Linked DNA regions of Homo sapiens: all the other regions are linked to region 1. Evidence: promoter capture Hi-C in human tissues and cell types (Jung and others, 2019). All regions are on one chromosome and are shown on one strand. The core of a region is centred on a gene start or on the middle of the fragment in contact, and the rest is flanking DNA. Distances in the headings are between cores, read along the strand shown.

Region 1 (3,879 bases), core at 530-3,029:
GAGGTGCCTGTAATCCCAGCTACTTGGGAGGCTGAGGCAGGAGAATCACTTGAACCCAGGAGGCGGAGGCCGCAATGAGTTGAGATTGTGCCACTGCACTCCAGCCTGGGTGACAGAATGAGACTGTCTCAAAAAAAAAAATTAATAAAAACAAAAATATATAACGGGTGAGTTATATGGTAAGCACGCAAGTTATACCTTAATAAAGCTGTGTTTAGGCCAGACCCGTGGCTCACACCTGTAATCCCAGCACTCTGGGAGGCCGAAGTGGGCAGATCATCTGAGGTCGGGAGTTCGAGACCAGCCTGGCCAACACGGTGAAACCCGGTCTCTACTAAAAATACAAAAATTAGCCGGGCGTGGTTGCGGGTGCCCGTAATCCCAGCTACTCAGGAGGCTGAGGCAGGAGAATCGCTTGAACCTGAGAGGCAGAGGCTGCAGTGAGCCAAGATCACACCACTGCACTCCAGTCTGGGTGACAGAGTGAGACTCCATCTCAAAAAAATAAATAAATAAAATTTAAAAATAAATAAATACACCTGTGTTTGAAACTGAAAAACATTCTCGGTTCACGGGCCATAAAAAACCTGCCTGGGCAGACGGGATCTGCGGCTTCTGCTGGTGGTACGGTGGGATCTGGCTATGGACTCTTAATTCCTAACCTGGTACCCCAACTCATTCCATGTCTGCTCCTACTTCTGCCCTCCTCCACCTCCAGGTCTCTGAATGCTACTGGAACTCTGATGTCCCTTCTTCCATGAAGTCTTGCCTAACTCTCCCAGGCACTTTGTTGGCTGTCACTTAATGGACACCTACTATGTGCCAGACATACAAGAATGCTTTACCGTAATTATTCAATTTAAAGCTATCATCACAACAACCTAGAGGGCATTACCCCATTTTACAGACCAGGAAACTCGAGACCCGAAGATGAAAAAAAAAAACTAGCCCAAGGTCACTTGCTGGTGAGTGGCAGAGCTGAGATTCAAACCCCGGAATGAGGCCTGAGCATGTTGATCTCTTCTGGCCCCGCAGGACTGACAGCACCTAGAGGGTGGGTCAGTTGTTCACCCAGGTGGCGCCATCCCAGCACCACCCTGCAGGATCTAGGGAATGAATGAAGGGTCGCTGGCCGAGAAGAGGAAGTCGAAGATTGGGGAAGGGGCCGGGGCTTGTTCGAAGTGAGGTCGAGGGACTTCCAGGACCCGGGACAGGAGAGGAGGGAGCGAGACAGGAGAGGAGGGAGCGAGCATCGCTGTCTGAACGCCCAGCCGGACCCCGGGCCGAGCTTCCTGAGGGTGCCTGTGCGGCTCGGGTGAGGCTGATCCCCACGGCGGTACCGGGGCGCCGGCTACACGAAGCGGCCCTGGGGCTGGGCCAGCCGGGCAGGGCCGGAAGGCCTGAGGGTGGAGATGCCACCCGGCTCCGAGCGCGTGGAAACAGACACGGGCGGAAGCGGCGAGGGGGCGGCCGGAGCGGGGTCGCGAGGCCGGGGCTGGGAGGCGCCCACCTGACCACCCGCCCGCCGCCCGGCTCTGCGGCCCGCAGGCCCCGCTGCCTTCGGCCTCCGAAGTCGGGCCGGGCCGCACGAAGTACCTGGAGGGTTGACGTTGTCATTTCATCTCCTGGGTCCGCCCCACACCCCGCGGCGCTGCTTGCGGCCTCGGTCCGGCCCCGGGGAGCCGAGGTACTGGGTCCGGCGCGGGAAGCCCGGCGGTGGGCGCTGAGCGCGGTGCGCGGGCAGGGCGGCCGCTCGCAGCGGGAGCCGAGTCCGAGGGCAAGCGAGGAGCGCAGCCCAGAGCGGTCGGGCCCGAGCCGAGCGGCTGCCCCCTAGCGTCCACGGCTCGCACTGCAGGCACCTCTCCCTGCCTCGGCGAAGGCAGGGGGCGGTTCGAGAGGCAGGACTGACTGGGGACGAGGAGGTGGGACTAGGGCGAGACGGACAGGGGGCGGGGACGGGGTGGGTGGGACAAGGCCGGGGCGGGGCCTGGCGGGACGTACATTCTCGGGGCGGGGCCAGGGGCGGAGCGGGGTAGAATCCGGAAATCCTGACCTCGCTTGGAATAACAGCGCCCATTGAGCAGTTTTATTCTCACAATAAAACGAACTTATCAGAGCGTTGGTTTCTCCATGTTTAATATCGCACGATCATAATTAGTACCTGCCTTGTCTGGCTTTTGTGGGGAATAAATGAGCTAGCTAATGTAAACAGAGTGTGCCCCACACTGGGGCTCAATCCCTGGTGGGATGCCGCTGACTGTTCAAAGCCAGTTTTGTTTTGCTTGGATTGATTGACTGATTGATTGATACGGAGTCTTGCTCTGTCGCCTAGGCTGGAGTGCAGTGGCATGATCTCGGCTCATTGCGACCTCCGCCTCCCGGGTTCAAGCGATTCTCCTGCTTCAGCCTCCCGAGTAGCTGGGATTACAGGCATGCACACCTACTGTGTGCAGCGTTGTGTGCTAGTTTCTGGGGATACAATGATCAAAGCAGTTCTAGGGCTGGGTGTACTGGCCCACGCCTGTAATTCCAGCACTTTGGGAGGCCAAGGCAGGAGGATTGCTTGAGCCGAGGATCAAGACCAGCTTGGGCAACATAGTAAGACCTCGTCGCTAAATTAAGAAACAAAACAAAACAAACAAACAAAAAAACGCACCAGAGGCAAGTGATCCATTTGTCCACAAGTCTATCCTGTGAGAGAAAAAAAATGGAGGGCAAAAAACATCCAAGTTGAGGCTGGGTATGGGGGCTCATGCCTGTAATCCCAACACTTTGGGAAGCCGAGGCAGGCCGATTGCTTGGGCCGAGGAATTCGAGAACAGCCTCGGCAACAGGTGAACCCCCATCGCTACAAAAAATAAAAAACGTATCTGGGCATGGTGGCGCACACCTGTAGTCCCAGCTACTCCGTAAGCTGAGTTGGGAGAATTGCTGGAGCCTGGGAGGTCGAGGCTGTAGTGAGCCGTGACCAGGCCATTGTACTCCACCCTGGGAAATGAAGCAAGACCCTGCCTCCAAAAAAAAAAAAAAAAAAAAAAAAAAAAAAAAAAAAAAAAAACCAAAAAATTGGCACACCTTAATCTCTCTTCACAAAATGCTAATTAAATACAAAGGAGAGGCCGGGCGCGGTGGCTCACGCCTATAATCCCAGTACTTTGGGAGGCCGAGGCAGGTGGATCACTTGAGGTCAGGAGTTCAAGACCAGCCTGGCCAACATGGTGAAACCCTGTCTCTACTAAAAATACAAAATATTCGCCGGCCATGGTGGTGGGCACCTGTAATCCCAGCTACTTGGGAGGCTGAGACAGGAGAATCGCTTGAACCTGGGAGGCGGAGGTTGCAGTGAGCCAAGACCACGCCATTGCACTCCAGCCTGGGCGACAAGAGCGGAACTCCATCTCTAAATAAATAAATAAATACAAAGGAGAAAACAATGAGGACATTAGCTTGACTACGCGACCGAAGGGAACACCCCTGGTGGTGGGATGCGTGGCCCTCGTGTGTCTCTCCACATGATACCCTGAAGAGAGCATGGCATCGTGGCATCTCTGCCAAGAGTGTGTGACACAGCCTGGTTGTGAGGCAACACCGAATAGAGCCAGCTGGAGAGCTGTGCTGAACAATCAAAGCCTTGTGCTGAGACTCAGGCACATGCGAATTAGAGTAAGGCCGAGGAACATTCCAGACTGAAGAACTGAGACACGACGACAAAAGGCAAGAAAGTGGTATTGGCCAGGATCCAAGGCCAGAGAGGAAAACAGGACATGGCCGGGATGGCTGGCATCATTTGAATGGGGTCTATGGAATGAGTGGTGGTGTGCCAATGTTGATTTCTTGATTAGGAGGACTTTATGGTGGCAATGCAAGGACTGTCCTTAT
Region 2 (3,879 bases), core at 566-3,065, 760 kb after region 1:
TGCCCAGAACAACGCCCGGCACCTAGTGGGCACTTAAAAAATACTTGCTGAATGAATCAATGAACCAGTCCCTGTCAGCAGGTACTGTGATTATTTCCAGTATTCTGCTATTGTAAACATTACTGTAATAAATATTCTTTGGGCAAACATGCTAGGATTTCTCCTGGCTCGCTAGCTAAAATTACAACGGCTAGGTCAAAGGTCTTTCACTGCCTCATACCCTACTCTAATCACTTTTTCCTCTACCATCCCATGGACACATGGCTGGCTGGCTGGCTGAGGTGCCCCATGCCTCCCAATTGTCAGCTCTGATGCTAGAGAGCTGATTGTCTAGAATCACTTGGCTTTGTTAAACCATGAGTCACCTGTGACCATGGCCTCCTTGAGCTATGTACTTTTGGTTAGGCTTTTTTTTTGGAGACAGGATCTCACTCTCTCACCCAGCTTGGAGTCCAGTGGCTCAATCATGAATCACTGCAGCCTCAACTGCCTGAGCTCAAGTAATCCTCCCACCTTAGCCTCCAGAGTAGCTGGGACTACAGGCATATGCCACCATATCTAGCTAATTCCTGGTTAGACTTCTGTCTCAGAAAGTATATAATAAAGTATGGCAAAGACAATTAGTGCAAAAAGACATCGAAAGCAGAGCTGAGTTAGCTGGAGCAGTGAGGGAAGGTTTCACAGAGGCTTCAGCTTATTCTGTACCCTTCTCTTGTTTGCTTAGGTATAGCTGAACCGATTCACTCAAATTCCTCAAGAGTATCATTCTGTCCTCCCATTTCCCTTAGCTAATTCCATTTCATACTTCAGGTGCCAGTTAGCAGATCTCCAGTGAAGTCTTCTGATCCCCCACTGGAGAGTCAACCTCCCTATCATGTGCTTTAAACCACTCTGCACACCTACCATTATTCAAACAAACCTACTCATCTATTTAATGCTTGTTTTCCTAGTTAAATGGTACACATTATGAGGGCAGGGATAATACTTTTGGTTGTTTTTGAAATTCTACAACACCATTGTCCAGCAAGTACCTGACTCACACTATATCTCTGTTTCCTGAATGAGTTGAGCCTTAAGGAGATGGATGACATTTGAATATTAAAGAAGGCAGGAGTGGCCCCTTCTACTGAGTGAGGTGCATGACCACATCCACACACCATACTGGCTCCTCTGCCCCATATTTCTGTTCAACACTTGGCTGTGTCCCTGCAGGAACAGGGGAGGGATGAAACTGGGGCCATTTTTCTGATCAAGGTTAGAGATTTGACAGACTAGATATTTACAAGGTGCCTGGATTTACTATATACACTGTGGCAGACTAAAAATGCAAAAGAAAAACACTGCAGTCCTTGAATACGGTTCAGTTTATTTTAAAAGCGTTATTTATTAGAGCACAATATGAGACAATACACAGTAAGGTGAGGTGCTGCAGGCGCTCAAAGCACAAAAGATTGGGAGAGGGAGAGAACACTTCAAGGTAGGCTCTGTACCAGGTCCTAAGAGGTAAGTGCCACCTGCATGGAAGAAGAAAATGTGGGAATCCAATCCAGGGACTGGGAAGCTTGAGAAGGGAGGCTGGTCTTGGGAGAGGCATGGCCAGCAAGGATAAAGGGGTTGGACCAGCCATTTTGAGATAAGTGGTGAGAAGTAAAACCTTCTCCCCACTGCCTACTCTACCCTCTAGACATATTGTCTCTTCGGTTTAGTAATAGTCATTGCCCAACCAGGACTCCTTTGCTTAACTGGTTCCTCATATTTAACATATGGCCTCCTGGTTTATTTTGTTTTATTTTGTTTAATAGAGATGGGGTCTCACTATGTTGCCCAGGCTGGTCTCAAACTCCTGGGCTCAAGTGATCCTCCCACCTCGGCCTCCTAAAGTGCTGAGATTACAAGTGTGAGCCTCTGAGCCTGGCCGGCCTCCTGGTTTCATTCTGCTTTCCCAAAGAGTCTGCACTCAAGGTGAAGAATGTGCTAACCAGCAAGCAAACGTCTGCTCCAAGCCACTCATAACTTCTTGCCTTGACAGGGCAACCACTGGCCTCTGTTCTTTAACTCTTGATCCCAATCCCCTTTTTCTCCCCTGGGCACTATCAGAGTTACTTCAAAACACAAATTTGATCATGTTCACAAACACTTCACTGCAGCCAGGCTGAGTGGCTCATGCCTGTAATCCCAGCACTTTAGGGGGCTGAGGCGGGTGGATCACCTGAGGTCAGGAGTTCAAGACCAGCATGGCCAACGTGGCAAACTCTTTGGGAAAGCGGAATGAAACCGTCTCTACTAAAAATACAAAAATTAGCCAGGCGTGGTGACGGGCGCCTGTAATCCCATCTACTCGGGAGGATGAGGCAGGAGAATCACTTGAACCCGGGAGGTGGAAACTGCAATGAGCCGAGACACCACCACTGCACTCCAGCCGGGGCAACAGAGCGAGACTCCATCTCAAAAAAAAAAAAAACAAAACAAAACACAACCCATAAACCCTTCACTGTCTCCCACTTTTCCCTATTTCTGTCACCCTCACCCTAGTTCGTGTCACCATCTCTTACCTGAACTACTGCTACAACCTCCTAGTTCATCTCTCCTCTCACTCTTGCCCCACCACCCAAGTCCATTTTCCACATTACAACCAGAGAGATCTTGTTAAAATCTGCCAGACTGCTGGGCATGGTGGCTCACACCTGTGATCCTAGCACTTTGGGAGGCTGAGGTGGGAAGATCACTAGAGGCCAGGAGTTCCAGACCAGCCTGGGCAACACAGTGAGACCCCATCTCTAACACAAACAAATTTTTTAAAATTAGCTGGGCATGGTGGCTTGCATCTATGGTCCTAGCTACTTGGAGGGCTGAGGCAGGAGGACTGCTTGAGCCCGGGAGTTCAAGGCTACAGTGAGCCACGATGACACCACTTCATTCTAGCCCGGGTGACAGTGCAAGACCCTGTCTCAAAGAAAAACAAAACAAAACAAAAATCTGCCAGATCAAGTCACCTCTGTTTCAAGGCCTCCAATGGCACCGATTCATTTCAAGTAAAGTCAAAGTCTTTATGGCCGCCTATAGGCACTTCACAATCTGGGTGCCAGCTAGCTCCCTGACTTCACCTCAAGCCTCCTCCCCTGCCTGCAGCTCTCGCCTGCACCCACCCCACCCTCCTTCTGATTCCTGGAAGACACTAAACCTACTTCCTCCCTGGTGCCTGTGTTCCGCCTTTTCCCTTGACTTGAAAGCCTCTTCCTGCATGTACGCCCGTGGCTCCCCACTCACTGGCTTCAGCTCTTTGTTCAAATGTCACCTTATCAGAGCAACCTTCCCTCACCATCCTACACAAAATAGCACCCCATTCTACATTCTCACTGTCTTTTTCACAGCCTTTGCCACCTGACATATCATGTTTACGGTCTATATCCCAAAGCAGAATGTAAACCCCGAGAGCAAGAATACTATTTATTTTCTTTACTGTTGAATCTCCATTGTCTAGAACAGACCTGACATGTAGTAGGTGCTCCACAAATATTTAATACATTTTTCTTTTGAGACAAGGTCTTGCTCTGTTGCCCGGGCTGGAGTGCAGTGGTGCAATCATAGATCACTGCAGCCTTGACCTACCGGGCCTAGGCAATTTTCCCATTTCAACCTCCTAAGCAGCTGGGACCACAGGTGTGTGCCACCATACCTATTTTTTTTACTTTTGTAGAGATAGGGTTTCTCTATGTTGCCCAGGCTGGTCTATGAACTTATGGGCTCAAGCAGTTCTCCTGTGTCAGCCTCTCAAAGTGCTGGGATGACAGGTATTAGCCACCATGCCTCATCCACAAATATTTAATAAATATTTGTCTTGAGATTAAAACTTAGATTCCTCAGTGTGAGCTTCAGAGC
Region 3 (3,879 bases), core at 591-3,090, 510 kb after region 1:
CTCTTCAAAGAGTCCTCCCCCACCCCCAGCAGAAGTAATGGGGCAACTAGGTCATCTTTAGGGGCTTGTCATGTAAACAGGGAATGAAGGCTGCACTGAATTCCTTTCTCCAGCCTTCCCAAATTTAGACAGTGAAAGTTGAGACAAGCATGATTGGACTTGCCAAGGGTGGCGGCCTGAAAAAATGAAAATGGTTTTGCAAATAACTTGATCCAAGGCACTTAACCTGCTTTGGGGCACCTCATCTTAATGGTGGTTAAGCCCTACCCTTTGAGAAGTGACAGTATGACGAGGAGCCCCAACCTGAATTCCAGGTGCTCATAAGACTCATTATCTCCCCATGCAACCTGATCCCCTGGGCTGATTATAGGAAATTGTAGGAAAGATTGAAAGGTTCTTCAGCTCCAGAAAGGCTCTGGGAAGCTCACTGTCACGCTGGCAAGGGCTGGGTTGTCTCTGAGCCCAGCAAGTGGGAGGAAAGAAGAATGGCAAAATGTTGAAACTGGAGGATCAGAATACGGGGACTGGGTATATTTCAACATGCCCATAAAAAAAGCTAACAAAAATAAAGCTAACAAGGGTCTAAGTGTTCTTTAACCCAGTATGCCCACCTTTCATAAACTTATTTGGTGACTTGGTGTAAAAACCAAATCCCAACAAAAGAAGCTAAGACCCCACTCCCCACTACTGGCCATCTCCATGTGGGAAAGTCTTTTTTTTTTTTGAGACAGAGTGTCACTCTGTCACCCAGGCTGGAGTGCAATGGTGCAATCTGGGCTCACTGCAACCTCTGCCTCCCAGATTCAAGCAATTCTCCTGCTTCAGCCTCCCGAGTAGCGGGGATTACAGGTGCACACCACCACGCCCAGCTAATTTTTGTATTTTTAGTAGAGACAAGGTTTCACCATGTTGGCCAGGCTGGTCTCGAACTCCTGACCTCAAGTGATCTGCCCGCCTCTGCCTCCCAAACTGCTGGGATTATAGGTGTGAGCCACTGTGCCCAGCTGGGAAAGTCTTTTCATTACAATATCATCACCATCATCAAAAACTGCAGCCTCAACTAAGCTTCAATTAGCTTTTATGAACTATTTTATTCAGATTTTATTTAATTTTATTTGTGTGCTTTTTGAGACAGGTCTCTGTCACCTAGGGTGGAATGCAGTGGTGCAAACACTGCTCACTGCAGCCTTGGCTTTCGGGGCTCAAGCAATCCTCCTGCTTCAGCCTCCTGAGTAGCTGGGGCTACAGGTACATGCCACCATGCCTGGCTAATTTTATTTATTGTAGAGATGGGGTCTGACTACGTTGCCCAGGCTGCTCACAAACTCCTGGGCTCAAGCCATCTTCCCGCTTTGGCCTCCCAAAGTGCTGGGATTACAGAAGTGAATGACTGAGCCCAGCCTCATTTTAATTTTTTGAGAAAGGGTTTTACTCTGTCACCCAGGCTAAAGTGCAGTGGCACAAACGCTAGCTCACCGCAGCCTCAGCTTCCTGGGCTCAAACCATCCTCCCACCTCATCCTCCAGAGTAGCTGAGACTACAGGTGTACTCCACCGCAGCAAATTTTTAATTATTGTTTGTAGGGACAGGGTCTCGCTATGATGCCAAGCCTGGTCATGAACTTCTGACCTCAGGTGATCCACCTGCCTCAGCCTCCCAAAGTTCTGGGATTACAGGCATGAGCCATCATGCTTGGCCTATTTTATTAGTATTTTAAACATGTGTAGAATATTAATGTGCCATGCTCTATTTTAAGCATGTGCTGCCACACCCAGCTAATTTTTGTATTTTTTGTATTTCAGCAAAAAATGTAATTTTATGTTTACAGGACTAGATGGGGTTTTGCCACGTTGCCCAGGCTGGTCTTGAACTCCTGGCCTCAAGCGATCCACCAACCTCAGCCTCCCAAAGTGCTGGGATTACAGATACAAGTATTGTGCCTGGCCAGGAGGCAGTTTGAAAACAACAACAACATATTTTCCTTATATATCCTTGTATTACTTGGCCTGTTACAATTAGAATGAATTCTTTTTTTTTTCATGACAAAAACTAGTAAGAATGACTTTTAAAAAGTGTTTTTAATACTCTGTCATCCCTGCATGCTGCTATTAAACCTACGGTGCCCCACTTTCTAGCCTACTGGGCAAAAGTAGCTTTCAAGAGAGGACCCCAAGAGAGATGACTGATGTTCAAATACAAATGAAACCCAAGTTCATGAAAAGCTTTTGGTCCTGGGGCAGGCTCTGAGCATTCAGCAACATTCCTTGCTTGAAATTGCCATCATGCCACACGGAACAGTCCCACTTTGACGATCCCGTTTCTTCTCCCACGCCCGCCTGGTCCCATAACTGGAATGTGAGTGGGTAGAAACAAGACAGTCTCAAAAGCTTCTATATTATTTTCAGACGATGTTGGGATTTAAGGACAGGGCCAGCTATGGAAGGCAGCAAACCATAGTTGAGTTGTTTGGTAACCAGTGGGATAACCTAGTATCTTAGACGTAACTAGTTGGAAGCAGTGTTTTGCCCACCCTGCATACAAAGGGGCACATTATGGATTGCCTCCCTCTCATCAGAACACATTTCCCACAGCGAACACCAAAGAATACTGCATTTAGCAATTCTTTTTTTTTTGTTTTTAAAGACAGAGTCTCGCACTGTCACCCGGGCTGGAGTGCCATGGCAGGATCTCAACTCACTGCAACCTCCACCTCCCGGGTTCAAGCCATTCTCCTGCCCCAGCCTCCCGAGTAGCTGGGATTACAGGTGCCTGCCACCACGCCCGGCTAATCTTTTGTATTTTTAGTAGAGACGGGGTTTCACTATGTTGGCCAGGATAACCTCGAACTCCTGACCTTGTGATCCGCCTGCCTTGGCCGCCCAAAGTGCTGGGATTACAGGCATAAGCCACCGCACCCGGCCTGCATTTAGCTTTATTCAAAGACCATTTGAACTTGAGAGCTCAGCCTCAGTTACACATAAAAACTGGAGGACAAGATCAGAGAACTGGCTGGGCATGGTGGCTCATGCCTGTAATCCCAGCACTTTGGGAGGCCGAGCCAGGTGGATCACCTGAGGTCAGGAGTTCAAGACCAGCCTGGTCAACATGGTGAAACCCCGTCTCTACTGAAAATACAAAAAATTAGCCAGGCATGGTGGCGGGCACCTGTAATCCCAGCTACTCAGAAGGCCAGGACAGGAGAATTGCTCGAACACAGGAGGCAGAGGTTGCAGTGAGCAGAGATTGCACCATTGCGCTCCAGTGTAGGTGACAGAGCAAAAAAGACTCCATCTCAAAAACAAACAAACAAACAAAAAAATCAGAGAACTAGCCAGGCATGGTGGCTCATACCTGTAATCTCACCATTTTGCGAAGCCAAGGCAGGAGGATCACTTGAGCCCAGGAGTTTGAGACTAGCCTGGGCAACATAGTAAGACCCCATCTCTTAAAATAAAAATAAAAAAAAAGAAATCTAACTTGATGGATGAAAGGAATCCTGGGGAGACAGCCTCATTCAGCTAGTTAGGCATTTTTCTTTTTGCTGGTTAGGGACAGTGTTTCTAACTCCATCTCCACAGATACTGCTGCCTATAAGATCTCCTTCCAGGCTATTTTCTTAGATGACACTGGGGATTCTGGCATGTGTTCTTTTAATGAGTATTCATGAAATCAGTAACATTACAGGTTTATTGAGCATTCATACTCAGCAGAAAATGTTAATTTTATGTTTACAAATGCAAGACTAGCCTGAGCAACATAGTGAAACCTCATTTTCTACCAAAAAAAGAAAATCTAAAAAGTTAGCCCGGTTGGCCAGGTGCGGTGGCTCACGCCTGTAATCCCAGCACTATGGGAGGCCGAGACGGGTGGATCACAAGG

The links. The method cuts DNA at HindIII sites, captures the fragments that hold promoters and counts their contacts. A contact is called where the count stands out against the background at its distance.
Region 2: a contact is called between a fragment that was not itself captured here and the fragment with the promoter of VPS4A in region 1, in 1 of the 25 tissues and cell types used here (dorsolateral prefrontal cortex).
Region 3: a contact is called between a fragment that was not itself captured here and the fragment with the promoter of VPS4A in region 1, in 1 of the 25 tissues and cell types used here (hippocampus).

The regions. Positions count from the first base shown.
Region 1 is chr16:69,309,250-69,313,128 of GRCh38, reverse strand. It overlaps VPS4A (vacuolar protein sorting 4 homolog A), which reads right to left and starts at 1,779. Exons shown (of 11, transcript NM_013245.3): 1 at 1,597-1,779. The coding sequence starts at 1,617. RefSeq lists silencers at 1,315-1,864, 1,925-2,064 and enhancers at 1,007-1,956, 1,957-2,907. The HindIII fragment of the contact is 10,929 bases long and covers 1-3,879 here.
Region 2 is chr16:68,552,708-68,556,586 of GRCh38, reverse strand. The region is part of intron 2 of ZFP90 (ZFP90 zinc finger protein); the gene reads right to left. Among named protein-coding and RNA genes, the nearest start is that of ZFP90, 15 kb to the right of the region's middle. The HindIII fragment of the contact is 9,782 bases long and covers 1-3,879 here.
Region 3 is chr16:68,794,924-68,798,802 of GRCh38, reverse strand. All of the region lies in intron 2 of CDH1 (cadherin 1), which reads right to left. Among named protein-coding and RNA genes, the nearest start is that of TANGO6, 47 kb to the left of the region's middle. RefSeq lists enhancers at 2,597-3,097, 3,098-3,598. The HindIII fragment of the contact is 4,503 bases long and covers 1-3,879 here.